Linked DNA regions of Homo sapiens: all the other regions are linked to region 1. Evidence: promoter capture Hi-C in 16 types of primary human blood cells and fetal thymus (Javierre and others, 2016). All regions are on one chromosome and are shown on one strand. Each heading gives the region's core, a stretch centred on a gene start or on the middle of the fragment in contact. The rest is flanking DNA. Distances are from core to core; before and after follow the strand shown.

Region 1 (6,675 bases), core at 1,270-3,769:
TCAAATCCAACTCCAGAAGTAGAGAGATTCTAGAGGTGAAAGTGGAGACTCGAGAGAAATGTTTGTCTTCTGTTTTCCTCCCAAGTATTAGGCTCAATGTAAGCTCAGAAGATAGCTTAACTCTTCCAGAGCTGTAGACAAACAGTTCACTAAAGCATTTAGCATTCATCTGAATGTTACAGTCCTTTCACATATGAGAATATCAAATCTTATTTCTTCAGTAAGCAAACACAGTTTTGACACCCACAACTTAATCTTAAGTGGTAATTTTGCTTAGAAAAGTGGCTCATGCCTGTAATCCCAGCACTTCGGGAGGCCGAGGCGGGAGGATCACGAGGTCAGAAGTTCAAGACCAGCCTAGCCAATATGGTGAAACCCCGTCTCTACTAAAAATAAAAAAAAAAATTAGCCAAGCATGGTGGCGGGCGCCTGTAATCCCAGCTACTCGGAAGGCTCAGGCAGGAGAATTACTTGAACCTGGGAGGCGGAGGTTGCAGTGAGCCGAGATCCTGCCACTGCACTCCAGCCTGGGTGACAGAGCAAGACTCCGTCTCAAAAAAAAAGAAAAGAAAAGAAAAGAAAAGAAAAGAAAAGAAAAGAAAAGAAAAGAAAAGAAAACTGACAAAACCAAAAGAGCAGATGCACAGGACAGATCAAACATGGAGAATACAAAAACTGTTCAAGTACTCATACACTGTTCCATTATATCCCTTATCCCAATCCATTACTCCTTTGCTATCCTCTGGCTGTGTCGCCCAGGCCGGAATGCAGGGGCACGATCTTGGCTCACTGCAATCTCCACCTCCAGGGTTCAAGCGATTTTCATGCCTTGGCCTCCCATGTAGCTGGGACTACAGGCACGCGTCACCATGCCCGGCTAATTTTTTTTTGTATTTTTTGTACTTTTAGAGACGGGGTTTCACCATGTTGGTCAGGCTGGTCTCGAACTCCTGACTTCAAGTGATCCGTCCGCCTCCACCTCCCAAAGTGCTGAGATTACAAGCGTGAGCCACTATTTCAGTTTTAAACTTTCTCCTAAGCCTGTCTCTTCAAACTTGCCTACTCTCTCTTTGGCCAATATCTTTCACTTGCCTTCAGATCCACTGACACGCCTCTCTTGCAGCAGAAGGTCTTCTTACATGGAAAATGTTTTTCTTATCATAACTCTTTTTTTAAGGGTTGGGATAATTCCAAAGTACTTGAAATAAGTTTCTCATATCTTGCTCTATGAGGTTGACTAGAATTTGTTCTGAAACCTATTGGATGACCAATACAAAAGAAATTCCTAAGCAGAAGACACGATCTAATTAACTAACACAGGACACGATTCAAATCACAAACTCACTTTCGATATGTAATGTGCCCCACACCAGATGACTTCAGCATATGCTAACCTAGGCTGAGAATCCTTGACTGAGTCGACAAACTCAGAAAAGCATGGAGATGAAACGATCTGTAGACGCCGCTGTGATGGTAGGATGCAGCAGACACTGATAAGGCAGCTCCCCTGGCTTGTGTTTGGGGCGCTCCGCTGTTTATTCTTTAATAGAAAAAGACAGAGTTCTAAATCTTTGACTTCTGGCTCACTTTGCTTAGCCATACGAAAGAGATGGGTCCACTATATACCTTTTCTGTGAAGACCCTAACCGCTTCAAGACTGTCCCTTAAAAAGCAAGAGGCTGCTGCATTTATACAGCTGCTGCAGGGAAATTCCCTGCGACACTAGAGACAGGTAAATAAACTGCATTCGTTCCAAAGCAGGGGGAAGGGTCTTCTATCAGTGACGAGTTTACATAATGCAACGGAAAACCAGTGAGCTCTGCAGACCTGTCAAGGAGGATGCAAGGCTTGAGCTCCTCTCTTCCCACCATCTCTAAACATTCTCCAACAGCCTGCTCTTCACTGCCAGGAGACCCACAGAACTTACACCTGAGAATGAGTAACAATCTGCTTACGCTTACCCCATGCTTTCCTACCCACCTTTATTATTAAAATACAGAAGAAAAAAAAATAAAAAGAAGTAGAAAACCCTAACCACCTATTTCTGAATCCAAAGTATGGAGTAACCAAACGGGGCCGAGGAGTTTTCCCTTCTCTGAAGAGAGGAGAACAAGGCGCCGCCTCCAATCTACACTACGCCCAGTAATGCAATGACAAGCCCTGAAAACTCCACAGCGTCCCAAGCAGTCCCTCGCGGCTCGGCCCGGCTCGGACCCCGCGGCCCGGCAGCCACCCTCTCCCCCGGCCTCTCACAAAGGAGACTGGTTCAGTCCGGAGCATCACCCCGCACCTGATCCCTCACAACTGGGGGGCGAGCAGGGGGTGGAAGAGAGAGGAGAAGGAGTTACTTAAATCAAATCTCTGAGAGCCTCAGCTTTTGCTGACTCCTGGCCCAGCACTGAGGAGCGGGTGCGAGCGGGAAGCCTACCTGTGCAAGTCCTGGTACTTCCTTTCCAGGCAGCGTTTCAACTCACCCTCTCCGAGAACAAGGCGCCTTCCGGCGGAGCATGGCCAGCCCTCGCCTCAATCTAGCTTGCTAGTAGTCCATTCTCCCTAGGCTCCGCCCCCCTGCGCTCCCATCCGCCAATGGCAGCACCGAAGCCCGGCCTCTTCCAGCGAGCTAGTGTGAGCGCCATCCAGGAAGTCTCTTGAGGGTGGAAGGTCCTAGGAGGATGAGAAGGGTACGTAGGCGACCACAAATATGCCTGATTGAAAATAAAATCTGGCGGCGGCTCGCCTCTGACGACTCAGTTCACAGGCGGCCAGGCCCCTCGGCATCTTTTTTTGACCCCCGCCATTGGGGGCGCTGTGAACTAAAACAACACTTAGTTACCTACTTCTGGGAAGCCATCTTGGCTCGGACTCCGGGACTGGGTGAGAGTGCTTAAAGAATGTGAAGACCCTGTCGGTGTTCTGTCCGACTATCTAGGTCCAGCCCGAACATACTCTGCTGTATACACTTAGGAGGCCCCTCAGTCACGACGTGAAACCCTGGAGTAATGCCGTATGTGGTTACGGGCAACAACCACCACCACCCTCTCACTTAACTGTAGGAGTAAAGCAATTTTAACAAATCAAATAAGCAAAAATTAATTCTTCTAATGAGAGTGAAAGTTGCACTTTCCTAGGGTAATCCTTTATGGACACCTCACTCAAAATATCAGGACATGTATCTATTATAGGTGCTACTAAGCTTTAGGATTCACTGCAAATTTTCCAGTAGGGGCACTGTGAATCAGTTGGAAATCAAGAACAGGACTTAAGGAGGAATTCCTTTTTTTTTTTAAAGGCCTAATTTTTTTTTTTTTTTTTGAGATGGAGTCTCGCTCGGTCACCCAGGCTGGAGTGCAGTGGGGCGATCTCGGCTCACTGCAACCTCTGCCTCCCGGGTTCAAGCAATTCTCCTGTCTCAGCTTCCTGAGTAGCTGAGACTACAGGCTCCCGCCACCACGCCCAGCTAATTTTTGTATTTTTAGTAGAGACGGGGTTTCGCCATGTTGGTCAGGCTGGTTTCGAACTCCAGACCTCAAGTGATCCGCCCACCTCGGCCTCCCAAAGTGCTGGGATTACAGACATGAGCCACCATTCCTGGCCAAGAAATCTTTTTTAAAGTTGTGAGTGAGGGAATCCTTCCAGATTATTAAAGGAATTTCTCAAGGAGTAACATAATTGCATGGTCTTACATGATAGGAGCTCAGAGACATCAAGAAGTCATATGAGTGATAAGACTCGGCCTTAAGCTGGGCGCAGTGGCTCACGCCTGTAATCCCAGCACTTTGGGAGGCTGAGGCGGGTGGATCGCCTGAGGTCAGGAGTTCGAGAGCAGCCTGGCCAACATAGTGAAACCCCGTCTCTAGTAAAGATACAAAAAAAAATTAGCCGGGCGTGGTGGCAGACACCCATAATCCCAGCTACTCGGGAGGCTGAGGCAGGAGAATCGCTTGAACCCAGGAGGCGGAGGTTGTGGTGAGCCAAGATCTCACCACTGCACTCCAGCCTGGGCAACAAGAGCGAAATTCCATCTCAAAAAAAAAAAAAAAAAAAAAAAAAAAAAAAAAAAGACTTGGCCAAATACATTTCCCTGTGTATCAAAATCTGTCAGCCAAGACAGGCGCGGTAGCTCACGCCTGTAATCCCAGCACTTTGGGAGGCCGAGGCGGGTGGATCACCTAAGGTCCGGAGTTCAAGACCAGCCTGACCAACATGGAGAAACCCCGTCTCTACTAAAAATACAAAAGTAGCTGGGTGTGGTGGTGCATGCCTGTAACCCCAGCTACTCAGGAGGCTGAGGCAGGAAAATCACTTGAACTCGGGAGGCGGAGGTTGTGGTGAGCCTAGATCATGCCATTGCACTCCAGCCTGGGCAACAAGCGGGAAACTCTGTCTCAAAAAAAAAAAAAAAAAAAATCTGTCAACCAAATTCTCTCCTGGCTACTGCTGCCATTATATCAATTTGATGTTAGTATTAAGATTTATCAGAACAATGTGTTTGTCTGTAAATGCATATACAGATATAACCTTAATTATTAATAGTTTCTAGGATGAGAGCCTATTATCCATCTGGTACAGAATAGACCTGTCATCAAAGGAGCTATAGATATTATGGAAATGGGAACAGGTGTGCCTGAACCAATTTCTGGTACCTACACTGATCTTAGTATGATTTCCAATGGTCTTGGCCTTCAAAAACCAATGGACATTGGTAAGACTATAGATGGAAAAAAAAAAAAAGTGGACATTATTTCATAACTACCATTCTTCATATGGGGTGGCATATCCACTTTTTATAATTCTTCATGACCACTTCACTCAGAATACAGATGATTTTGCCCAGATACTTTTTTTTCTCATGCTTCCCTTACAATTGGTGCAATACCCAAGTACAGAAGGTCATAAGTCGGCTTGGTTAATAGAACAAGATATGGGCATTAATATTAAAAAACTGTGCTCCAAAATATCAAAATGGTATCCTTTATTGACTCTGAAAGCAGTAGCTCTAGGCAGAATGCTGTCTTTGACCAATCCTCTAATGCTTCTCAATTGCTAAAGATTGTTTTTTTGGGTAGTAAAAAAAAAAAAAACAAAAAAAAAACCTTCTGTACAGAAACTAGTTTTTATTACTTTAGTTTTCGCCCAGAGGTAAGGGGGCAGGCTAACTCCAAGTTCAACAGCTTCAAATCCTTTTTGGAATCAGATAGGATTTTAAAAACAAAACAAAAGCATAACCAAAGCAATACCCCAAATGTCTTCCAACTTCCTGTGGTGCACTGTCAACTATTACTACTACTACTGGGGTCAGAATCGAGTATAGCATGAATCCCAAAGAGGCTTCTTCATTATCTTTGATTTAATTCCCTGAGAGGAGAGTATCTACTAATGTTTGGGATACAATTAGAAATGACACATGGAGTATGAATAGCTTTGATACATGCATATATTTAATAATGAAACAATTCATCAACAGCAAAAAGAAAGTAGAAAAATTCGTAAGACCTCAGGGCTGTGGAAGAGAACGGGACATCAAGGAAAAAAGATATATATAGCAACCAACCCAGAAGGCTGCATGATGAGTGAAGCAAAGGCAAGTTTGGCTAAGATAGTATTATATGCTCTGAAAAGAGAATGGCTGGATAGGTACCCACTTATGTGACTGCTTACTAGCAGGCAGCCTTACTGTATGCCTCATGGAATGGAGGCAAAAAGCCAGGGAAAGGTGGGAGGGGAGAAGGAAGAGAACTGTATAAAACCCAGGGTAAACAAATGAGTGGGGCAGAATTACAGAGAGAGGACTCTAAAGTCTTTTGTTTCCTTGAAAGTCTAAAATAAACCTTAAGTTTTTAACTATGTCAGTCAAATTCAATGAACACATAATGAGTAGCACTAGGCACTGTAAAGGAATGATAGGGGGAATAATTTATAAAAATAAAGGAATGACATGGATCCTGCTCTCAAGGAGCTTACAACTTATACGGAAAGACAAGATTCCACACAAAAACAACTGCAAACCATATTTACATAGTAACATACATAAAAATAAATATACATATAAATAGACATATGAATAACCAACATATGAAAACTAAGGAATATTGTGTTAATAACTGCTTAGCAGTACCTAAGTCTGTTACTAAAGAAAAAATTTTTGGACTTTTAAGTATAATTAGTGGAGAGTAGGGCATGTGCAAAGGTATGGAACTAGGAATAAATATGTCACATTCAGTAAGTAGATTAGCCTGATTGGAGTAGAAAGTCTAGGTCTAGTTAAGAAGGGAGTTTGATGAAACAGTAGAAGTCTATCTGGTGAAAGACACTACAATGTTAGATCTGGCCCCTAAAATAAAATGAACAGGGAACAAATGTTTTCTTTAGGTAATAATAAGTGGCCACATGTCCCTGACCAACTTCACTGCTCTTAAAAGTTTTGAAGTTACACTAAGAGATAGAAGCTAATAATAGGATAGTAGAGAAGTACTCAGTGCTCTTGGGCAAGTAGAGGAAACTGCCTTCTACAAGAATTCTTAGGAAGTGGCAAGCAGACACCCAAAGGCAAGGAAGAAAAAAACTCAATGAAATTCCGAGGCAGAGGATCTATCAACCAAAGGCCAACTAGATCTAGGTAATTGCAAGTGTTCAAATAGAATGTCTTTGACCCTAATTCTTAGTGGGAAGTGGATT
Region 2 (6,675 bases), core at 400-2,899, 1.6 Mb after region 1:
TAAGCCTAAGAGTAACAGGATGGTACCACCACCACCACCAGAATGACAGAAATGAGGCAGTTGAGAGGAAATACCATGGCTGGGCATGGTGGCTCATGCCTGTAATCCCAGCACTTTGGGAGGAGGAGGATCGCTTGAGCCCAGGAGTTTGAGACCAACCTCGGCAGCATAGCAAGACCCAGTCTCTAAAAAATAAATAAATAAAAAGAGGAGACACCAGTATATTAGAGAAGAAGTGTATTTATTTAACATTTTAAATTTCAAATGATGGCAACATGTTTAAGTAGAAAGTCCTGAAAACAACTGACTAGGTCTAAAAAAGAGAAAAAGATCTTCAATCTTGGGATGCGTTGCCAACACAACATGACAGTAGATGTCACACTTAGGTTTGCAAAAAATATAAGCATTTGGGGTTCATTTCAGTATTGGTCTAATTTAAATAAATGTGAAACGAGCCTTAAAAATGTACTTTCCAGTACTTTTGGTATTTTTCATAAATATTTAGATAAAAAAGAAAGACAATTCATCTCCTTTAGACAGACAGTTCAGGGTAAGACTGTCCATAATTTTAACTATCCCTTTCCTCCCAAGTCACATTTTTGTTAGGACTAAATATATCATACTCTTGGCAGTTCCCTTGCTTGCTTTCTCCCCATTCTGAGTTTGAATTTTCTGCATGACTGAGTTCACCTCCAAACTATGAAAAATAAAAGTTTTCTCACTATTTAATAGATGTGTATGATATGGTATCACTCAGATGATATATGTTTTTATAATGGGTGCTTGACTCATTCAGGGTCATGCTAGCAATAGACTTCCTTAAATGTGATTACTGAAAGCATGGCAATTCATATCATAATCTTCATTTTAAGAAATAAATAAGGAAAACGGCCACTTAAAGCTCCTGCTGTGTTGGTCAGTCCTACTCCTCCACTTCAAGGTGCAAAATGGCTCACCTGTCAAAAGGTTCTCTCAAAACCTATTTTTATCAGAAATGAGCTCCTTATCACACAAGAGCAGCTAAGTAAATACCACAAAATACTATTTTCCCACATTTTAAAAGAGTGACTCGACTAATGGTCTGCAAAAAATCCAAGACCTTATTTTTAGGGGTAAAAAAGAGAGCTGTAGACCCAGAAGGCCGAATGCGGTCTTTAAAGGATTCCACGTAATCTGAAAATTCCACGTATATTTCTATAGCAGGATGAGAATTTTTAGCCCAGTATAGCACAGTCCTTTTTATTTACATTTGCTAAGATTACATTGGTAAGATTAATATTTCCGATTTCAGGTTTGCCTAAAGGACCCACTGCATTTATGGAGAAACTGAAAAATGAAAAAGTAGCTCCTAGAACTCGTGCCAGCGAGAACTTGGTAAATGTTAGTTGATTAAATATTAGTCAAGGATGACAAGGTGGACCCCAGGGAGGGCAGAACCGTTTCCGATGGGTCAGTGTGATTCAGCTACGGGAAAGGCGATCGCAGCGACGCGGGAAGCAGAGATCGGCGACTGCTCAAGAGGCCTCAGGGGACAGGGTGACTCGCCACTGTGCCCTACCATACAGTGCGCTCTGGGAGTCCCGGGTAAAGGGGGTCATTCCCGCGAGGGATGCGGAGAGCAGAGCGGCCGGAGGAGCGGCTAGGGATCTCGCCGGGTCACCGGGGAGGGTAGACTACGTAGCCCCGAGAGCTTTGAGAACTTGGGCTGAAGGCGGCGCTCGCCGTGAGAACTGACGCGGAGGTGCAGCTTTGCAGCCCTACAGATGTTCTACCGCGTGTGCCTGGCGCTACCGCACGGGCTGACTCAGCTAGGCAGAGGCGGAGGCGGGCGCGCGGGAGACAGAACTATCCGCGGCGCCTGCCCGTGTACCCGGCTACCGCGCGCACGCGGGGAGACACCGCCCCGTTTGCCTTCTGGCTCCCGGTGATTGGCGGTTAGACGATGGCTGGGGAGCAGGGTCACGGACACTATTGGCTGCAAACAACAGTCACTCAAAAAGTCAGGTAGGGGAGGGGCCTCCTCAGGGAGGGACAAGACTGTGAGGCTTTTTCAAGGCCGTCAGACGCCATCTTTAGCTTGTTTTTGTTTACTTGCTTTTGTTCTCTGCTGCTCACAAACCTGTGTGTACACGATTATAAGCACAGTGGCCACAAATCGGCGTCACACGTTGGGTGGTGGCCGACTTTTAGTTACTGCTGGCCTCGGTTACATTTCTTTCACATGTCACCTGCAAATTAGCAGCTCCTCACAGTTCAAAGAAGTTTCCAATACTAGGGGCCCCGAGGATTCCCAGGCAAAATCAACAGAGTTTAGTTTTGCTTTGCTTTGGAAGGCCAAGCCAACGATATATATGTGCGAGGAATTCTCTCCTTTCTTAGGAAGAAAAAGCAAGAACAGTGGATATGACCCTACGTTCCTGGATGTAGAAATCAAATAGCCTAGGAAATCAGGGATACGGGCTCTGCACTGTTCAGGGAGAGCTCTCCCTATTTTTTGAGACGCTAAAAAGTAAGGTAAAAAGTATATGTGATGACCTGTAGTGATGTGGAAAAGAGCTAAAAAGGGTAAAACTCCATTAAAAATTCCCGTAACTGGCCGGGCGCGGTGGCTCACGCCTGTAATCCCAGCACTTTGAGAGGCAGAGGCGGGCGGATCACCTAAAGTCAGGAGTTGGAGACCAGCCTGACCAACATGGTGAAACCCCGTCTCTACTAAAAATACAAAAATCAGCCCGGCATGGTGGCACATGCCTGTAATCCCAGCTACTCGGGAGGCCGAGACAGGAGAATCGCTTGAACCCAGGAGGCGAAGGTTGCAGTGAGCCAAGATCGCACCATTGCCACTGCAGCCTGGGCAACAAGAGCGAAACTCCGTTTCAAAAAAAAAAAAAAAAAAAAAAAAAACTCCCATCACTGTTGTGATCACAAAGATCACTAAAATGTGACTAGATTTCAAAGAAATGCAGGTCTGAAATTGTGGAATAATCCACAGTCGAGCCAGTATTTATTAAGCACTGGTCTGACTTGAATTGTTAGAGAATAAAAATACACTCAGCACAAGTAAGAAACCCAGAAAGCCCAAACAGGGCCACTTTTGTTATAAATTTGTACAAGTAACTTTATTGCAGTCAGTATTTAGGAGTCAAATACTGCTTGAAATAGAGTAGGATGCTAGCTGTGTAATAGAAATGCATTATTATACAGAAGTTTTGTTGTAATGAAATTTAAATTCTACAGTAGATTTTTTTTTTTGTCTCCTGGTTGTCACTGCATTTGTGACATTCCAGTTTCTCCCTCAGCACCTCATATACCTCCTATGCTTTCACTCCAATCTGCGAATACAAATTTGGATACAGATATTTTCCATACAACTTCTAATGAGGAGATAGTGATTCTGTAACAGAATGAAGTGAAAATAGGGCTCCTATAACAGGAGGTTCTGCTCTGCGAGCCTGTTTTTCTCTAATTCATATACTTTTTTCTGTGACTCTTAGAAATGAGAAGCTTTCCATTCTAAAAATGCAACATGATAACCAAAAGGCATTTCTTATCCCTTCTATTATTTGCCTTTGCATCCTCTTGGCTCCCCATCACCATCACCATGAACAGTTTTTGAGAATTACACTTGACTGGATTTTTTTCCTGATACTTTGCCAGCTGTGGAGCTTTTCGAATATTCCAACCAATAAACGACCATTTTGTCAAAAAGCCAAGAAAGAACTTCCCTTCTGAACACACCAACCAAACCACACATAAAGGCCAAAATATACACAGCTGTACACTTAAGAACGTGAGACAATAAAAAGCAAAACCACTTAGGCAAAACAGTCACTGAAGGCTTTGAACCACAGATTCAATAAATTGCCTACTCTCATTTGCCACATGGACTATATACTCCTTGGCAATTATTTAATTATTCATTATTCTGATCCTTTAGGAGCAGAAAAATATAGTAAATGCACATAGAAAGTGCCTAAGTATGCTAAGCATAGGATTTCTTCTAAGCTCTGCTTTGCACACAAAATATTTTGATCACATTTGGGAAGACAACGGAAAAAAATTCACATCCTAGGGGATACTTTGCACACATAAAACCAGATATATTTATCACTTTTGAAAATAAAATCTGATATGGCACATATACACACATATTGTACATATACACAAATAACCCCAAGTTATAACTTTACAAATTTGTTTCAAGAAACACACACACACACACACAAATGTTCTAATGAAAATGTGTGTGAAAGACACACTGTAATTAAGGTCTTTCCCCCTTCCCTAGGGAAATGAATGTCTCCATTATAATATCCCAATATTAACTTATTGGCCTTGGACAAGTGCCACATCCCAGCCACTTGGTTTTGGTTCTGGGGGGGTGGGTGTGTAAAAAGCACGCAAACGGCTTTATGAGGGAGCCTCAAATCTCTCTGCTTCCTTCGATGTTGCCTGTGGCAGAAATTTACATTATCCCTTCAGCCCGCTTAAAAAATTCTGTACTTCCCAAGCGGCTAAATTTTTAAAGTCCCTCAACCACAAAAATCTACCAGTTCTTAAAATGTGATTTAAAAAAAAGAAAAAAAAACTATAAATTTGGCCGGAAACGGTTGTACACGGCCATCCTGCTTCTCAACTTCTTGGTATATTTAAAACCTTGACCAGGAAAAAGAAAGAGGAAGAGAGACAGAAAAAGAAATGGGGGAAAGAGCAAATTCCCCTTAGCAACAGTTTCCTCACCCCAACACTGCTACAGATCTCTATTTTTAAAAAATTTGAAAACACACACAAGATTAAGGAGGAAAAAAAATGGAAAAAGGATACCCGAAGGTCGTATGGCTCTTTGTATTCGTGTGTGTGCAAAAAGGAGGACTCGCGGAGCCCGAGCCGGCAAGCCCCGCCCCTCCCCGGACGCCCTCCCGGATTGGCCGTCCGCGGCCGCGGGGCGCCCCGCCCGCAAGCACACGCGCCGCGCCCGAGGCGCCAACCCCGGAGTTGGGGGCGGGGGGGGCCCTGAGGGCCGCCGGACCCCCGACCCCCAACCTCGCCTGGACCTTGGCAGACCCCTTTCCCACCTCTCTCCCTTTCACTTTCTCACCGTCCTGTCACCCTTTCCCATCTTTTTTTCTCAGTGAAACAAGGCCCAGTCACCAGCATAACAATCCAGTGAGCGACCTCCGGACACTTTGTTAAATTGAGTGAACTAGTCAGTAACATTCTAGACTGCAATTAAACATCAGGGACTTGGTGCGTGGGCCCTACTCCGGTTTCCAGGTGAAATGTCTCTGGGTCACGTGTGTTGCTTAACACCCCCACGTTTAAATGAACATTCACGTATGGAACATCTTTCTGAAGTCTTACACTTCAGCCCGAGCTCCCAGTTTATCTACCTGGCTCAGACCACATTCTCAAAACTAAAGTGGCTCCTCTTTATTTCCAGGAAGACAGCTGGTATACCTGGATTTTAAGCCACCCATAATCTGGTCCCACCCACCTATTTGTTATTTATTTATTTATTTAGACAGAGTCTCGCTCTGTCACCCAGGCTGGAGTGCAGTGGTATGATCTTCGCTCACTGTAAACTCCGCCCCTCCGCCCCCACCCCCACCCCCACCCCCACCCCGCCCAAGCGATTCTCCTGCCTCAGCCTCCCAAGAAGCTGGGACTACAGGCGTGCGCCACTGCACCCAGCTAATTTTTTTTGTTTTTGGTAGAGACAGGGTTTCGCCATGTTGGCCAGGCTGGTCCTGAACTCCTGACTTGAGGTGATGTGCCCACCCTGCCTTTTTTTTTTTTTTTTCAGTGATGTGATCTCGGCTCACTGCAACCCCCACCTCCGAGGCTCAAGCGATTCTCCTGCCTCAGCCTCCCGAGTAGCTGGGATTACGGATATATGCCACCACGCCCGGCTATTTTTTTTTTTTAAGTAGTGACGGGGTTTCACCATGTTGGCCAGGCTGGTTTTGAGCTCTTGACCTCAAGTTATCCTCCCGCCTTGGCCTCCCAAAGTGCTGGGATTACAGGCGTGAGCCACCGCGCCTGGGCACATATTTGTTCTTAGTTCCCTCTACGCTCGTCTTATCAATCTTGTATTATTCCTTTACTCAAGTGGCTTTTTTTTTTTTTTTTGGCCTGAATTATGCGTCTCCCCTTCCCTGACTGGTCAATTTTTATCCATTCTCTTTCAGCACAGACTGCTTACTTCCTTCTCTCCGCTCCCATCAACATGAATTTCATGTGTACTCCAGTTAGCGGCACGTAACTCTACCTTGATTCACATATTTTAGTAATTTCACTCCAGTAAACTGTTTGAGGTCAGTGATCATATCTTAAAATTGTTTTTCCATCCAGGAACTGTTTGATTCTTACTGCAGTAGCTGGCATAATTGTAGATATTTAGTAAACACTGACCAAAAAAATCATTTATTTATTTATATTTATTTTTGAGCTGGAGTCTCGCTCTGTCGCCCAGGCTGGAGTGCAGTGGCCCGATCTCGGCTCACTGCAAGCTCCACCTCCCAGGTTCACGCCATTCTCCTGCCCCAGCCTCCCGAGTAGCTGGGACTACAGGCGCCCGCCACCAAGTCTGGCTAATTTTTTGTATTTTTAGTAGAGACGGGGTTTCACCGTGTTAGTCAGGATGGTCTGGATCTCTTGACCTCGTGATCCACCAGC
Region 3 (6,675 bases), core at 1,845-4,344, 1.1 Mb after region 1:
ACTTTAAATGAGCACAGCTTTCAGTTGGGCAAAAAAGGAAACTAAAGGGTTGCCAACACTGGAATATAACTCTAAAAAAGGGACAGATGTCCTCTTCTAGAGATATCTAACTACAAGATAAACAGTCAGCTACTGGATGTTTGAAATCTGTCTCAAATAGAAAAATATTCTACCTCTGAGGTCCTTTTAAAGCCAATATATTATACTCTGATGATCCAAAACACACACAAAAAAAGATCTCTCAATGACAACTTTCTACCTCTGGTTCCTTCTTGAAACCATGGTTAAGTCTCTCAGCTATGAGGGAATAGAAGAAAACAGACTATTTTCATACCATCAGGCCCAATAACAACAGGTTTTTTAAAGGTTTGGTAGCGTTCTGAATTGGTTTAAAATGTACTGGTCAATTTCCAAAGAGCATATGCTAAACTAACACATGCAGAGGGAATAGAAGAGAATAGACTGCCAAAAAAAAATAGAGAAGATTAAAGAACATTTCCCTCCAATTCATCCTACATGCTAACACCAATTTTAAATCTTTTCCTTTCTTTAAAAAAGCACCCTCAGTGCCGGGTGTGGTGGCTCACGCCTGTAATCCCAACACTTTAGGAGGCCGAGGCGGGCGAATCACGAGGTCAGGAGATCAAGACCATCCTGGCTAACACGATGAAACCCTGTCTCCACTAAAAATACAAAAACTTAGCTGGACGTGGTGGCAGGCGCCTGCAGTCCCAGCTACTCAGGAGGCTGAGGCAGGAGAATGGCGTGAACGCAGGAGGCGGAGCTTGCAGTGAGCCGAGATGGCGCACTCCAGCCTGGGGGACAGAGTGAGACTCCGTCTCAAAAAAAAAAAAAAAGCATCTTCAGAAGCTTTACTATTACCTACAGGATAAAGTCCAAATTCCTGGCCGGGCACAGTGACTCACACCTGTAATCCCAGCACTTTGGGAGGCAGAGGCAGGCGGATCACCTGAGGTCAGGAGTTTGAGACCAGCCTGACCAACATGGAGAAACTCCGTCTCCACTAAAAATACAAAATTCGCCGGGCGTGGTGGCACATGCCTGTAATCCCAGCTACTTCGGAGGCTGAGGCAGGAGAATTGCTTAAACCTGGGAGACAGAGGTTGCAGTGAACCGAGATCGCCATTGCACTCCAGCCTGAGAAAAAAGAGCAAAACTCCATCTCAAAAAAAGTCCAAATTCCTTGGCCTGGCATTCAAACATCTAGCACCCAGCACTACCTAATCCTTCAACAGTATCGCCTACATTTCCCTCTCCCAGCTCACTGGACTCCTCCATTCTCTTGCAACAGGAAATTCCACAGGAAAGTTAGAAACCCCAGCACCATAAAAAGGAACAAGGCTACCTTTGCCAACAATCAAAACAAAGGATAAGCGTCCAAATTTCCCATTAAAACCAGTCTCCAGTTGATGATCTAGGCTAACAAATGGCAGAAGAGGCAGGATTTAGGAAAGTCAATGCTGTCAAAAGAAGGGTAAATCATACCCTTCTGTGGCAACTAAGAATTATCATGAATCCCTTCTTTTCTTGAAGTTGCTTTCATTTCTATAGCTCTATTATCTGTTATCTAACAGATCTGGAAATCCTAATCCCCCTTATTGGCCCCATTACTAATATGCCCTTTTACTAGGTTTTTCTTCAATGACAAGCCACCTAGTTCCCACTGGAGAGGAGAAAGGCAGTCCAGTCTGCCAATTCAATTTCAGCCACAACGGGCTCAAAAACAGGTCTTGGCATAAGTGAAAGTCATTTGCTCAAAAAAACCTTCTGGCTTTATTACACTGATAATCTATAACTCTAGTCCATGCCCACTCTTCAGCAAACCACATTCTTCAAAGCATCCATGAAAAATCATTCTAGACCCTAGAGGCTTATGAAGGCAGGGTGACTTCTACATGGAGAAGGCATCTTTTTTAAAATCAGCTTTCAGACCCTGCCTTGCTCCTACTCTTCCAGACCTGGAAACAAAAACATCAAACAAAATTAAATCAAAAGTTCTCATCAAGGTTCCTTCTCCGGGCTGGCTAATAAAAACATATAGTACCGTGGCAGAGGGCGGTGGGTGGGTGGTGGAGAATACTTAGAGCAAAGGGGTAGTGTATCTGGTCGGATGATGGTTAACACATCCTGAAGGCAAGGACGCCACCACAGACAACTAGGTCTTGGTCATCTAGGACAAAAGTCAAAGATGGTAACTAAATATCCAATCAAAAGGCTAATCTGCAACTTCAGTACACAAGTCATTAGATCCTCAGACCTGTTTTAAATTCTAAGAAATATCTCTGGTGTGTCAGAACAATGTAAATGTACAATAAGCATTCTATAGGTCTGTAACTTTAAGCACAGCACCACTGTCACCAGACTTTTTTTTTTTTTTTTTGAGGCTGAGCCTCACTCTCACCCAAGCTGAAGTGCAATGGCACGATCTCGGCTCACTACAACCTCCACCTCCCGGGTTCAAGCGATTCTGCCTCAGCCTCCCGAGTAGCTGGGATTACAGGTGTGTGCCACCATGCCTGGCTAATTTATGTATTTTCAGTAGAGATGGGGTTTCACCATGTTGGCCAGGCTGGTCTTGAACTCCTGACCTCAAGTGATCTGCCTACCTCGGCCTCCCAAAGTACTGGGATTACAGGCATGAGCCACTGTGCCAGGCCTCCAGACAATTCCAATGCTGTATTTTGTCTGTACCCCAACTAGACCATAAACTCTTTACGGATAAAGAACATGTGCCAAAGCTTTTACCATAATGCCTCATATTGGACTGAAAATACAACTGATGACCTGACTGATGATCACACTGAAAAGAAACCATGAATGCTGGCATGTTTTCAAAGTCAAAGTAGCAGGTGATACCAGTGATAGAGGCCACGCCTGTTTTCAGTATTCACTGAATCCCCGTTGGGCAAGAAAAGTCAGATTTTAACAAAAATTGATGGAGACTGTTCTCGCTAAATATAGCAGTCTACAAGGTTACCAAATCCTGGAATCAAAAGGAAAAATAAGGCTAAAATAGAGTTATGTGAACAAAAATTGGGTTCAGGACAGTGAAATAACAGCTTCCTCAACAAGAAAAAAAGTAGTAGCAGCTAAAAGGCAAAATCAAGTAAAGGATGATTCAACAAGAAAAGCACCAGTATTTATATTCTTTGCACTTTCATTGAAACGTTTCACCGGAGATTGGTAATGATTAGGCCAAGATGACAGAGATGATTCAAGGTTGGGTTTTTCATTTGAAAAGTCTACTAATTTTAGAGTTGTGTTAAACCTAAGTTAAAGTTGGAATAGGGTTTTCCCCGGACCAATATTAAGTGAAGTGGATCACCAAGTGGAGTAGCGGCACGAAGGTGGTTTCTTTAGACTTTTAAGTCCAACTCCTACGGAGCCGTTTGGTATTAGGCATATAATCTAAGCTTTCTGAGCCTCAATTTCCCCATTCACAACAAAAGGGCAATGCAGGCTCTTCTCATAACTTCAAGGGGCGGTGGTCTGATATAGAGTACTATGAAAACAAAAGCAGCACACCAAAGTAACACATTATTATTATGATCACTTATAGAACCATTACCCGCTAGGATGAAACTCCCCACACAAGAGATGAAGCCCGAGAGAAAAGAGTTGAAGGGGAAGGTCCCCACGAGGAGACAGTAACCGAACTGCAGCGCCCCGGTCAGCAGTATATACAGCAGGTACGCGTCCAGCAACTTCAGACGCTGCGGAGTGGAGCTCAAGTACTCTTCTAAGAACCGCGAAATGACAGACACTACCGACGCCGACATAACTGCACGCAAGGTACTCCGGTCCGCGCCCCAAACTCTTGGAGGACCCGTCGACCACACCGGATGTGCTGTTTGCGCATGCGCACCCTCGTGACCTAACTCCGCCCTCCCCGGTGTGCCAATTTGCGCAGGCGCTGAGGCCGGCCAGGGCGCGTAACAACTAATGCGCAGACGCGGACTGCATCAACAGACTCAACTACAACTCAGAAAAGTTAATGCGTCTGCGCAATGGCCCTATCAATGAGCTGGGGACGTGTACTCTTTCTGTTCTGTTTCCGCCCGTCAGCTCGGTGACGCCCACAGTTGCTCTGGCAACAAGACACACTGGGAGGAAGAGGGGAATAAGCTTTACTGGGGACCGCGTAGCTAACCAGAGGTATCCGGCTCTCTCTGGTCCTTCTGAGTCCTGGAAGATTTAACGGTTTGCATCTACTTTGAGGCAATGCCTGGCGTTCCTGGGGTTTGATACCAGCCTGACCCTAATTCTGTTAAGGGCGCTGTCTGCAGATGTCTGTCACAGATCATTGGAACAAGTCAAGTTCATCCGCAGTGAGACCCGGCGCGGCCAATCACTGCACAGGCCCCAGTTTAGACTTAATTACTTGGGGGAGTGAGTGGGTGTGGTGAGGGGCGGGAGGCAGGGAGGAAGCCTGACCTCAGCAGGGTTCTGAACTGGAACTCGGGATCTGGCCCTGCAATGCCAACATTTATTGGGCGCCTCCTTGGGGCCTGACGTTGTACTAACTTGTAGGGACTCTCACGTGAATCAGATATATTTGCAGCCTTAAAAGAGCTGGTGAAGGGAGGGACAGCTGTCGAATGTCGTGCAAAAAGCATATGGTCAAGTTTAGCAGCTCTCTTTCCGCAAGCTGGTATCTTGAACCTGGTGTAATATCCCGGGATGTCAGCGTCGAAAGGCCCGAAAGAGCATGCCTGGTTCAACCCTACTCTCTCCAACTCATTTTGCAGAAGAAACTGAAATGGTTTCAGGTTTTGTATTTTAACAAGTGGGATTATTTTGAGGGTTTTAACTGTTTTTTTTTTTTTTTTTGAGACGGAGCCTTGCTCTGTCGGCCAGGCTGGAGTGCAGTGTCGCGATCTCGGCCCACTGCAACCTCCGCCTCCCTAGTAGCTGGGACTACAGGCACGCGCCACCACGCCCGGCTAATTTTTGTATTTTCAGTAGAGACGGAGTTTCACCATTGTTAGCCAGGCTGGTCCCGAACTCCTGACCTTGTGATCCGCCAGCCTCGGCCTCCCAAAGTGCTGGGATTACAGGCATGAGCCACTGCACCCGGCCTGTTTTAACTTTTTTTAAGAAATTAAGTTCTGGCTTTCGTTGCCCTTTTAATTTCACGTGAATCCGACCTTCTAGACCCAGTTCATCTCACCTTTTAGCTGTAAGTTTTTCCACACATGACCAGGTACTTTATTTTCAGCTTCTTAATATTTTGAACTGTACGTGAGCAAAATTCCTAAAACAGCAGGTGAACAACAGCGTTCCTGCCTTTTCACTTTTTTTTTTTTTTTTTTTTGAGATGAAGTTTTGCTCTTGTCACCCAGGCTGGAGTGCAGTGAATGGTGCGATCTCGGCTCACTGCAACCTCCACCTCCTGGGTTCAAGCCATTCTCCTGCCTCAGCCTCCCGAGTAGCTGGGATTAGAGGCACCTGCCACCACGCCCGGCTAATTTTTGTATTTTTAGTAGAAACGGGGTTTCGCCATGTTGGCCAAGCTGATCTTGAACTCCTGACCTCAGGTGATCTGCCTGCTTCAGCCTCCCAAAGTGCTGGGATTATAGGAGTGAGCCACTGCGCCGGCCCCTTTTCACTTTTTATTTGCCTTTAGACTGGAAACTCTACACGCATTAACTAACGGATGTATTATCAGTGGTGATCAAAGCCTTACTTAAGTTCTAGAAAGAAGAGAAATAACCTAAGAAACCTTTAGAGTCTATTTGAATAGATAGATTTATATTCATACCCGTGGAGATTTGTGCAGCTATATGAACATAAGTTCAGCCTAAACCTATGTTGCTGAGAAAGAAAAAAAAAGAGTGGATAACAAGCTGGTTCTTATTTCAATATAATATGGCAGGAAGCATCAATTTCTCTGACAAGTTGAACCTTTCTCTCTGCCTCATCAACAAGTAGGAGGGTAGCTTCCTCACGAATATTCAACTTCAAACTTTACAGGCTAGGCTGATGCTTTTTAATCATTCAGGTGTGGATTCTTCAGGGAGTTTCTGTTCCATCAGCCAGGCTCCTTCCAGTGTTTTCTCCCTTATGTTTTGTCTGCCTTTGATCCATGTCAACTATCATCATTAAGATCTCCCCAGGAACTCTCACAGGAGAGAAGAAGAGATGAAAAACACCAAATGGACTTATTGAATGCATTTGTTTCTGAGACCTGCTAGTCACACCAATATACTACACTAGGGCTTTTCTGAACTACTTAAAACAGCAAGAAAAGGCCTACTTCTCTATTCGGTTTATGATTCTATAATCATTGAAACATTTTTAACTGATCTGTCAATAGGAAATTGCTAACACTAGTGTTGATTTCAATTAGTTTAAATCAGAATATTAATATAGTTTAAAATTCTTGTCCAGAGTAGTGGATAAGAGTGCAAGCTCTAGAATCAGACAGTCCTAGGTTTGAACCTTGATTCTGCTGTTTACTAGTTGTCTAATCTGGAACAAGTTACTCAGTCTGACAGTCTCATTTTCCTTTTCTATAAAACAGAAATAACAATACCTGGCTCATTGAAATTATGTGAGGATTAAATGAGATAATGTTAAGCATTAAGCTGTTAGCATAGTGTTTGGCAGACAGTAAATGTTCAGTAAATGTTTGCTCTTATTAACTATCATTAA
Region 4 (6,675 bases), core at 2,103-4,602, 1.1 Mb before region 1:
GCCGAGATCGTACCATTGTACTCCAGCCCTGGGCAACAAGAGCAAAACTCCTTCTCAAAAAAAAAAAGAAAAGAAGGAAAATACCTTAAGGCAGCCAGGTGTGGTGGCTCATGCCTGTCATCCTAGCACTTTCGGAGGCCAAGGCTGGAGAATCACTTCAGGTGTGAGTTCAAGATCAGCCTGGGCAACATGGTGAAACCTTGTCTCTACAAAAAAATACAAAAACACCGGGCATGGGCCAGCTACTTTGGAGGCTGAGGTGGGAGGATTGCTTGAGCCTGGGAGGTTGAGGCTACAGTGAGCTGTGATTGAGCCATTGCACTCCAGCCTGGGTGACAGAGGGAGACCCTATCTCAAAAAAATAAAAAATAAAAACCATAAAAACATTTACAAAAAAATTTTTTAAAGGAAAAGAAAATATCAAGCTGGGCATGGTGGCTTATGCCTAAAATCCCAGCACTTTGGGAGGCCAAGGCGGGCAGATCACTTGAGTTAGGGGTTCAAGACCAGCCTTGCCAACATGTTGAAACTCCATGTCTACTAAAAATACAAAAAAAAATTAGTCTGGCATGGTGGCGTGTGCCTGTAATCCCAGCTACTAGGGAGGCTGAGGCACAAGAAATTGCTTGAACCTAGGACACAGAGGTGGCAATGAGCGGAGGTTGCACCACTGCACTCCAGCCTGGGCGACAGAGCAAGACTCTGTCTCAAAAAAAGAAAATATCTTAGGCTCCTTTTTGTTCTAACATCTAATGACCTTTTTTTTTTCACCAGTGGGCTAAGGTCGTACAATGGCTTTAGAATGTGAGCAAGCAGGAGATAGAGGTAGGAAGGGGCAGCATGCTTAACAAAAAAGAATGCCTCCATATCCAGGGCTCGGCCATACAACACCAGCTGCTATGCCTTATCATGGACTTCTCTCTCTTCACTCTGAGTGATTTACTTACAGATACCTCTTTTTAGATACTGGCCATATTCTCTCTCAGTATCTCCAAGTCAGGTCAGGTTAGGTATGGGACGGATGTGGCAGTGGTTTTGCGTATCCCTTGTCCCCTCCCATTATTGCCCTGCTCTCAGCTCATTGTCAAATTTCTGCAGCTGACAAACAAAAGCTGTGAGTAGAACTGTCAAGGAGTAAGTCATTTAACAGTTGAGCATAACAGGTTTAGACCTTTGGAGCATCCAAATTGTTTTCATTTGGGAAATAATTATTGGGAGTGGATTGGGAGCTGGAAAACACATATAGCTTAGAAAATATCTAAATAGGGAGCTGAGGCAGGAAAAAACTGGAGGAGCCATTCAATGTAGGATATTTGAGGTTGGATAGAGGGTTTTAGGAAGCTTCTAGGCTCCCACTTTAATTCCTAAGAATCCAAAGTTTAATGTATAAGCCCTATTTCTTCTTTATATCTTTAATCTTACAGGAATCTAATTTTCTTGCCTGATGCTATCCTTTTCCTTATGGAAATAACTGGCACCTGTGACGAAGGATGAGTCATTGGTTTATGTGATTTCCATTTGCAAAACTCCTTTTTTTTGTTTTTGTTTTCACTCAACATAGACCAATCTCCAGTTCAACAACAACAAGTACTATCTGATTCAGCTATTAGAAGATGATGCCCAGAGGAACTTCAGTGTTTGGATGAGATGGGGCCGAGGTAATGATTTTTATTGAGATTTTATGAGTTGGCATTCAGAAAGTCAGAAGCAGCTTAGTGGGTGGCCAAAGGATTCTCTGGGTTTAAATTGGGTCAGTAGAGGCTCTGAAGTCTGGGAGAGCCTTAGGAATCAAGTTGAGCATCTTGAAATTGGGGAATGGCAGGCATCCTCCTTAGAGTTCCCACTGGAAAAACTAAGAGCAGCCCATTGAGTCTGAAAACTCTTCTATAGTTGAACTGCTAGTAGTGCTCATAGACTATGGCAGTTAGCAAGTAACTTGTATCAACATGATTAGTTCCCTAAATCCTTTCACCTTTCCCTTCTCCCTTTCCTGCCTGTTTGTCAGATGTTAAGCAGAGAGATCTTGGAGAGCTGGCCTGTTACTCTTAGGGAACTATCTTATGTGTGGCATTTCCTTTGCAGTTGGGAAAATGGGACAGCACAGCCTGGTGGCTTGTTCAGGCAATCTCAACAAGGCCAAGGAAATCTTTCAGAAGAAGTGAGTGCTGAAAAGTGACTACAAAAAAATATACCCTCCTCTTCTTAGATGTATATTCTCTAAAAAATTTTTTTTTAGACAGTTTCACTCTTGTTGCCCAGGCTGGAGTGCAATGGCATGATCTGAGCTCACTGCAACCTCCACCTCCTGGGTTTAAGTGATTCTCCTGCCTCAGCCTCCCTAGTAGCTGGGATTACAGGCGCCCACCACCACGCCCAGCTAATTTTTGTATTTTTAATAGAGATGGGGTTTCGCCATGTTGGCCAGGCTGGTCTCGAACCCCTGACCTCAGGTGATCCGCCTGCCTCAGCCTCCCAAAGTGCGGGATTACAGGCGTGAGCCACCGTGCCCTGCCTTCTCTAAGAATTTTATAAGTGTGTGGCTTATAAAAAACTTTTCGTTTTATAGGTGTGATTTGGCCTAAATGTTAATGTCTTTTCACCCTGACATTCTGTGGTTGAAACACCAAACTGCATCCTTAGTGATTAAATCAAACTAATACCTTGAAAGTCACTAAAAACAGAAGAATCTAATATATTTAACACATGACTGACAAATTTAGGAAATTTGGGATAAGTGGAGACTATCCTGGGATAGATAATATTCAACTAGGGGCTGAGCACGGTGATGCCTGTAATCCCAGCACTTTGGGAGGTTGAGGCAGGAGGATTGCTTGAAGCTAGGAGTTTGAGACCAGCCTGGGCAACAAAGCGAGACCCCTGACTCTCCCCCAAAAAAAAGGAAAGAAAAAAAGAGAATATTCAGTTAGAATTTTTAAAACTTTATGATATAGATGAAGAACTTTCTGGAGAATTGGAGAACATGTTTCTTTCAGGGAAAGAGATTAGATGGATATCTTTTGTTTGAAATCTCAATGGCTTTTGTGGTGTTTGGGAAGGACAAGCATTGTTTTTCCCATTTTTTAAATTCCATTTGTCTCCAGAGCTTTTTTGTCCATTTAGTGTCCTCATTTAGAATTAGACTAATTTTGATTTATGGAAAGTTGATGTGTAAAGGAGCTCAGTGCTGGAAAATAAATTCTTTGGAGATTTTCTGTCTTGTAAGTCCATCTTCATAGTAGACCTTTATTTGTAAAGTTTTCTTACACCTTGGACTCTACAGATTCCTTGACAAAACGAAAAACAATTGGGAAGATCGAGAAAAGTTTGAGAAGGTGCCTGGAAAATATGATATGCTACAGATGGACTATGCCACCAATACTCAGGTAACTCTCACTATACTTTTCGAAAGAAACACATCTTCTTTTTTTATTTTATTTTTTAGAGGCAAAACTGTGCTCTGTTGCCCAGGCTGGGTGGCACAATCATGGCTCACTGCAGCCTCAAGATCCTCAGGCTCAAGTGATCCTCCCACCTCAGCCTCCTCAGTATCAGGAACTACAGGCACGTGCCACTCTGCCCAGCTGATTTTTTTTCTTTTTTTTTTGTAAAGATGAGGTTTCACTATGTTGCCCAGGCTGGTCTCGAATTCCTGGGCTCAAGCAGTCCTCTTGTCTTGGCCTCCCAAAGTCCTGAGATTACAAGCATGAGGCACCACACCTACTCCTGTTTCTTCTTACTCAGGGTAAAGCAGAATAGCTTAGATCATTCCTGGACTGGGACAGGCCAGGATATCTTGAATCCTTTCTACTTCTCACCTCAGGGGTGCTCTCACTGATCTTTGTAATCCCAAAGGGACAGTAAGAATGAGGATAGAATGTGCCTTTCTAGTCTTGGCTCTGTTATTTACTAAGGTTCTTTTTTTTTTTTTTGAGCTGGAGTTTGATTCTTGTTGCCCAGGTTGGAGTGCAATGGCTCAGTCTCAGCTCGCTGCAACCTCCAGCTCCCGGGTTCAAGCGATTCTTCTGCCTCAGCCTCTCAGGTAGCTGGGATTACAGGTGCCCGCCACTATGCCCAGCTAATTTTTTTTGTATTTTTAGTAGAGACAGGGTTTCATCATGTTGGCCAGTCTGGTCTTGAACTCGTGACCTTGGGTGATCTACCCGCCTCAGCTTCCCAAAGTGCTGGGATTACAGGCGTGAGCCATCACGCCCGGCCTACTAAGTTTCTTATAAAATCTTAGGCCCTATTTCCAGACGTTTATTGTTTTTTTCGTTTTTTTGTTTTTGTTTTTTTTTGATACGGAGTCTCGCTCTGTCGCCCAGGCTGGAGTGCAGTGGCGCGATCTCGGCTCACTGCACGCTCCGCCTCTGGGTTCACGCCATTCTCCTGCCTCAGCCTCCGGAGTAGCTGGGACTACAGGCGCCCGCCACCACGCCCGGCTAATTTTTTTTTGTATTTTTAGTAGAGACGGGGTTTCACCATGTTAGCCAGGATGGTCTCGATCTCCTGACATCATGATCCGCCCGTCTTGGCCTCCCAAAGTGCTGGGATTACAAGCGTGAGCCACTGCGGCTGGCACCAGAAGTTTATTGTTATGGACCAAGAGAGGAGTGATAAAAAATCAAACTGATTAAACAATTAACATTTAAATTTGTTTTCACTTCTGGATATATACCACCATAAAAAATTTAATTTAGATAAACTGAGGTATACCAGGATGCTGAAACTGTCCGGAAACAGTCACATATCCAAAAAAATGGAGAAGTTTTAGTCTTTTTTAAGATGGGAAGATCTGAGACATAATAGCTGTCTTTACACACTGACGTCATGAGGAAAGCCTTTTTTTTCTAGACTTATTCTGAGTTGTAAAATGTGGGAGGCAGAACTTGGATGGTCAACCCTCTATATCCATGGATTCAATGAACTGAGAATCAAAAATGTTTGAAAAATTGCTTCTGTACTGAACCTGTACAGCCTTTTTTTCCTTGCTTCTCATTATTCCCTAGACAGTGCAATATAAAAACTTTACAAAGCATTTACATTGTATAATATTGGGTGTTATAAGGAATCTAGAGATGATTTCTTAGATTGTCTTGTGTTTTGTTTGTTTTTTGCTATAGGATGAAGAGGAAACAAAGAAAGAGGAATCTCTTAAATCTCCCTTGAAGCCAGAGTCACAGCTAGATCTTCGGGTACAGGAGTTAATAAAGTTGATCTGTAATGTTCAGGCCATGGAAGAAATGATGATGGAAATGAAGTATAATACCAAGAAAGCCCCACTTGGTAGGACTTCACATTTTCTTCTGCATTCTCTCCTTATAATTCCTAGCTCCTTTAATGGATACTTTATTATCATTATGATTTAAAGCTTGCTCATAGTACTGAATGAAGAAAATGGGATTTGGGGTGACAGGTTGTATGGAGGGAAGAGGAACTATTTTGAAAGTTGAGGCTGGGTGTGATGGGTCATGCCTATAATCCCAACACTTTGGGAGGCCAAGGCAGGTGGATTGCTTGAGCCCAGGAGTTTGAAACCAGCCTGGGCAACATGGTGAGACCCCATCTCTACTAAAAATAGAAAAATTAGCCAGGCATGGTGGTGTGTGCCTGTGATCTAGCTACTTGCGAAGCTGAAGTGGGAGGATCACCGGAGCCCAGGAGGTTGAACTGCATTTAGCTGTGTTTGTGCCACGGCACTCAGCCTGGGCAACAGGAGTGAGACCCCATCTTAAAAACAGGAAAAAAAAAAGTTGAAAGATGAAAGTCTTTTTTAGGGAAGGATGTTAAGTACAGTTCACTAGATGGGATCCTAGTTTGGAGTCTGATCTCTGGGTGGGCCTGCAGGGAAGCTGACAGTGGCACAAATCAAGGCAGGTTACCAGTCTCTTAAGAAGATTGAGGATTGTATTCGGGCTGGCCAGCATGGACGAGCTCTCATGGAAGCATGCAATGAATTCTACACCAGGATTCCGCATGACTTTGGGTAAGGCCTGTGCTGTTACTTCACTTTGTTCTTCTACCTATACATATCCCCTGTATCCATCAGCAGCAGCTATAATCTTTTAAATCTTTTATTCCTAAGAAAATGATCGTCTTGAATAGGTACAGAAACAAAATGATATATAGGTAGCCTATTTAATCAGCTTACAAATATGGGATGCAATCTCCCGGCTTGACCACAGCCATATTCTCTGACAAAGTGGAAGTTACCAACCCAAGAGAGAATGGGTCTAGCTATCCAACCACCCAAGTAAAACACCTTCAGGCATATCACCCCCTTTTCCTATTTGAGTAACTAAAACCACACAAACACCATTTCTGTGAACTCAAGTGATATTAGATAGACAAAATAACATTTTACATTTGTTGATTCTGTTTTCTGGTTTACATCCGATTTCTATTTCTTTTATAGCTTTATAGAGCCCCGTGACCTAGAAATAACCCTGAGTGGTCAACAGGTCTACCTGTGCTTCTAGATAGAACTGTATCCAACTGTTCCCTGTTGATATCAATATAACTTATTTTTAAATGATTTTATAAAAAATAATTTTAACTCTAGTCTCAAAAGTCAAAATCCACATAGTTCATCTTATACCGAGTATATATTTAATATTATTTTATATATTTGGAAGTTAAGATCTCTTTACAGATCTCTTTCTCTCTCAAATGGAAAAC

What was found. The method cuts DNA at HindIII sites, captures the fragments that hold promoters and counts their contacts. A CHiCAGO score of 5 or more calls a contact.
Region 2: a contact is called between a fragment that was not itself captured here and the fragment with the promoter of CHD8 in region 1, in 2 of 17 cell types (naive CD8 T cells and fetal thymus). The highest score is 8.1, in naive CD8 T cells.
Region 3: a contact is called between a fragment that was not itself captured here and the fragment with the promoter of CHD8 in region 1, in 2 of 17 cell types (naive CD4 T cells and total CD4 T cells). The highest score is 5.7, in naive CD4 T cells.
Region 4: a fragment that was not itself captured here is called in contact with the fragment with the promoter of CHD8 in region 1 in 1 of 17 cell types (monocytes); the score reaches 8.3 in monocytes.

Annotation. Positions count from the first base shown.
Region 1 is chr14:21,453,604-21,460,278 of GRCh38, forward strand. It overlaps CHD8 (chromodomain helicase DNA binding protein 8), which reads right to left and starts at 2,520. Exons shown (of 38, transcript NM_001170629.2): 1 at 2,429-2,520. LOC124903283 (a long non-coding RNA gene) reads left to right here and starts at 2,794. Exons shown (of 2, transcript XR_007064064.1): 1 at 2,794-2,874. It overlaps RAB2B (RAB2B, member RAS oncogene family), which reads right to left. Exons shown (of 8, transcript NM_032846.4): 8 at 5,417-6,675. RefSeq lists enhancers at 2,263-2,952, 2,817-3,368, 2,983-3,032, 3,043-3,092, 3,369-3,920. The HindIII fragment of the contact is 18,756 bases long and covers 1-3,191 here.
Region 2 is chr14:23,005,277-23,011,951 of GRCh38, forward strand. C14orf93 (chromosome 14 open reading frame 93) reads right to left here and starts at 4,867. Exons shown (of 7, transcript NM_021944.4): 1 at 4,825-4,867. It overlaps LOC124903286 (a long non-coding RNA gene), which reads left to right. Exons shown (of 2, transcript XR_007064075.1): 2 at 1,292-3,708. RefSeq lists enhancers at 1,365-1,734, 2,668-3,228 and silencers at 1,895-1,944, 4,856-5,205. The HindIII fragment of the contact is 3,706 bases long and covers 1-3,502 here.
Region 3 is chr14:22,585,358-22,592,032 of GRCh38, forward strand. It overlaps DAD1 (defender against cell death 1), which reads right to left and starts at 3,867. Exons shown (of 3, transcript NM_001344.4): 1 at 3,590-3,867. The coding sequence starts at 3,800. RefSeq lists enhancers at 2,864-3,505, 3,506-4,147. The HindIII fragment of the contact is 675 bases long and covers 2,758-3,432 here.
Region 4 is chr14:20,348,965-20,355,639 of GRCh38, forward strand. It overlaps PARP2 (poly(ADP-ribose) polymerase 2), which reads left to right. Exons shown (of 16, transcript NM_001042618.2): 5 at 1,562-1,658; 6 at 2,083-2,158; 7 at 3,281-3,383; 8 at 5,121-5,283; 9 at 5,845-5,983. Among named protein-coding and RNA genes, the nearest start is that of PARP2, 8.7 kb to the left of the region's middle. The HindIII fragment of the contact is 4,027 bases long and covers 1,340-5,366 here.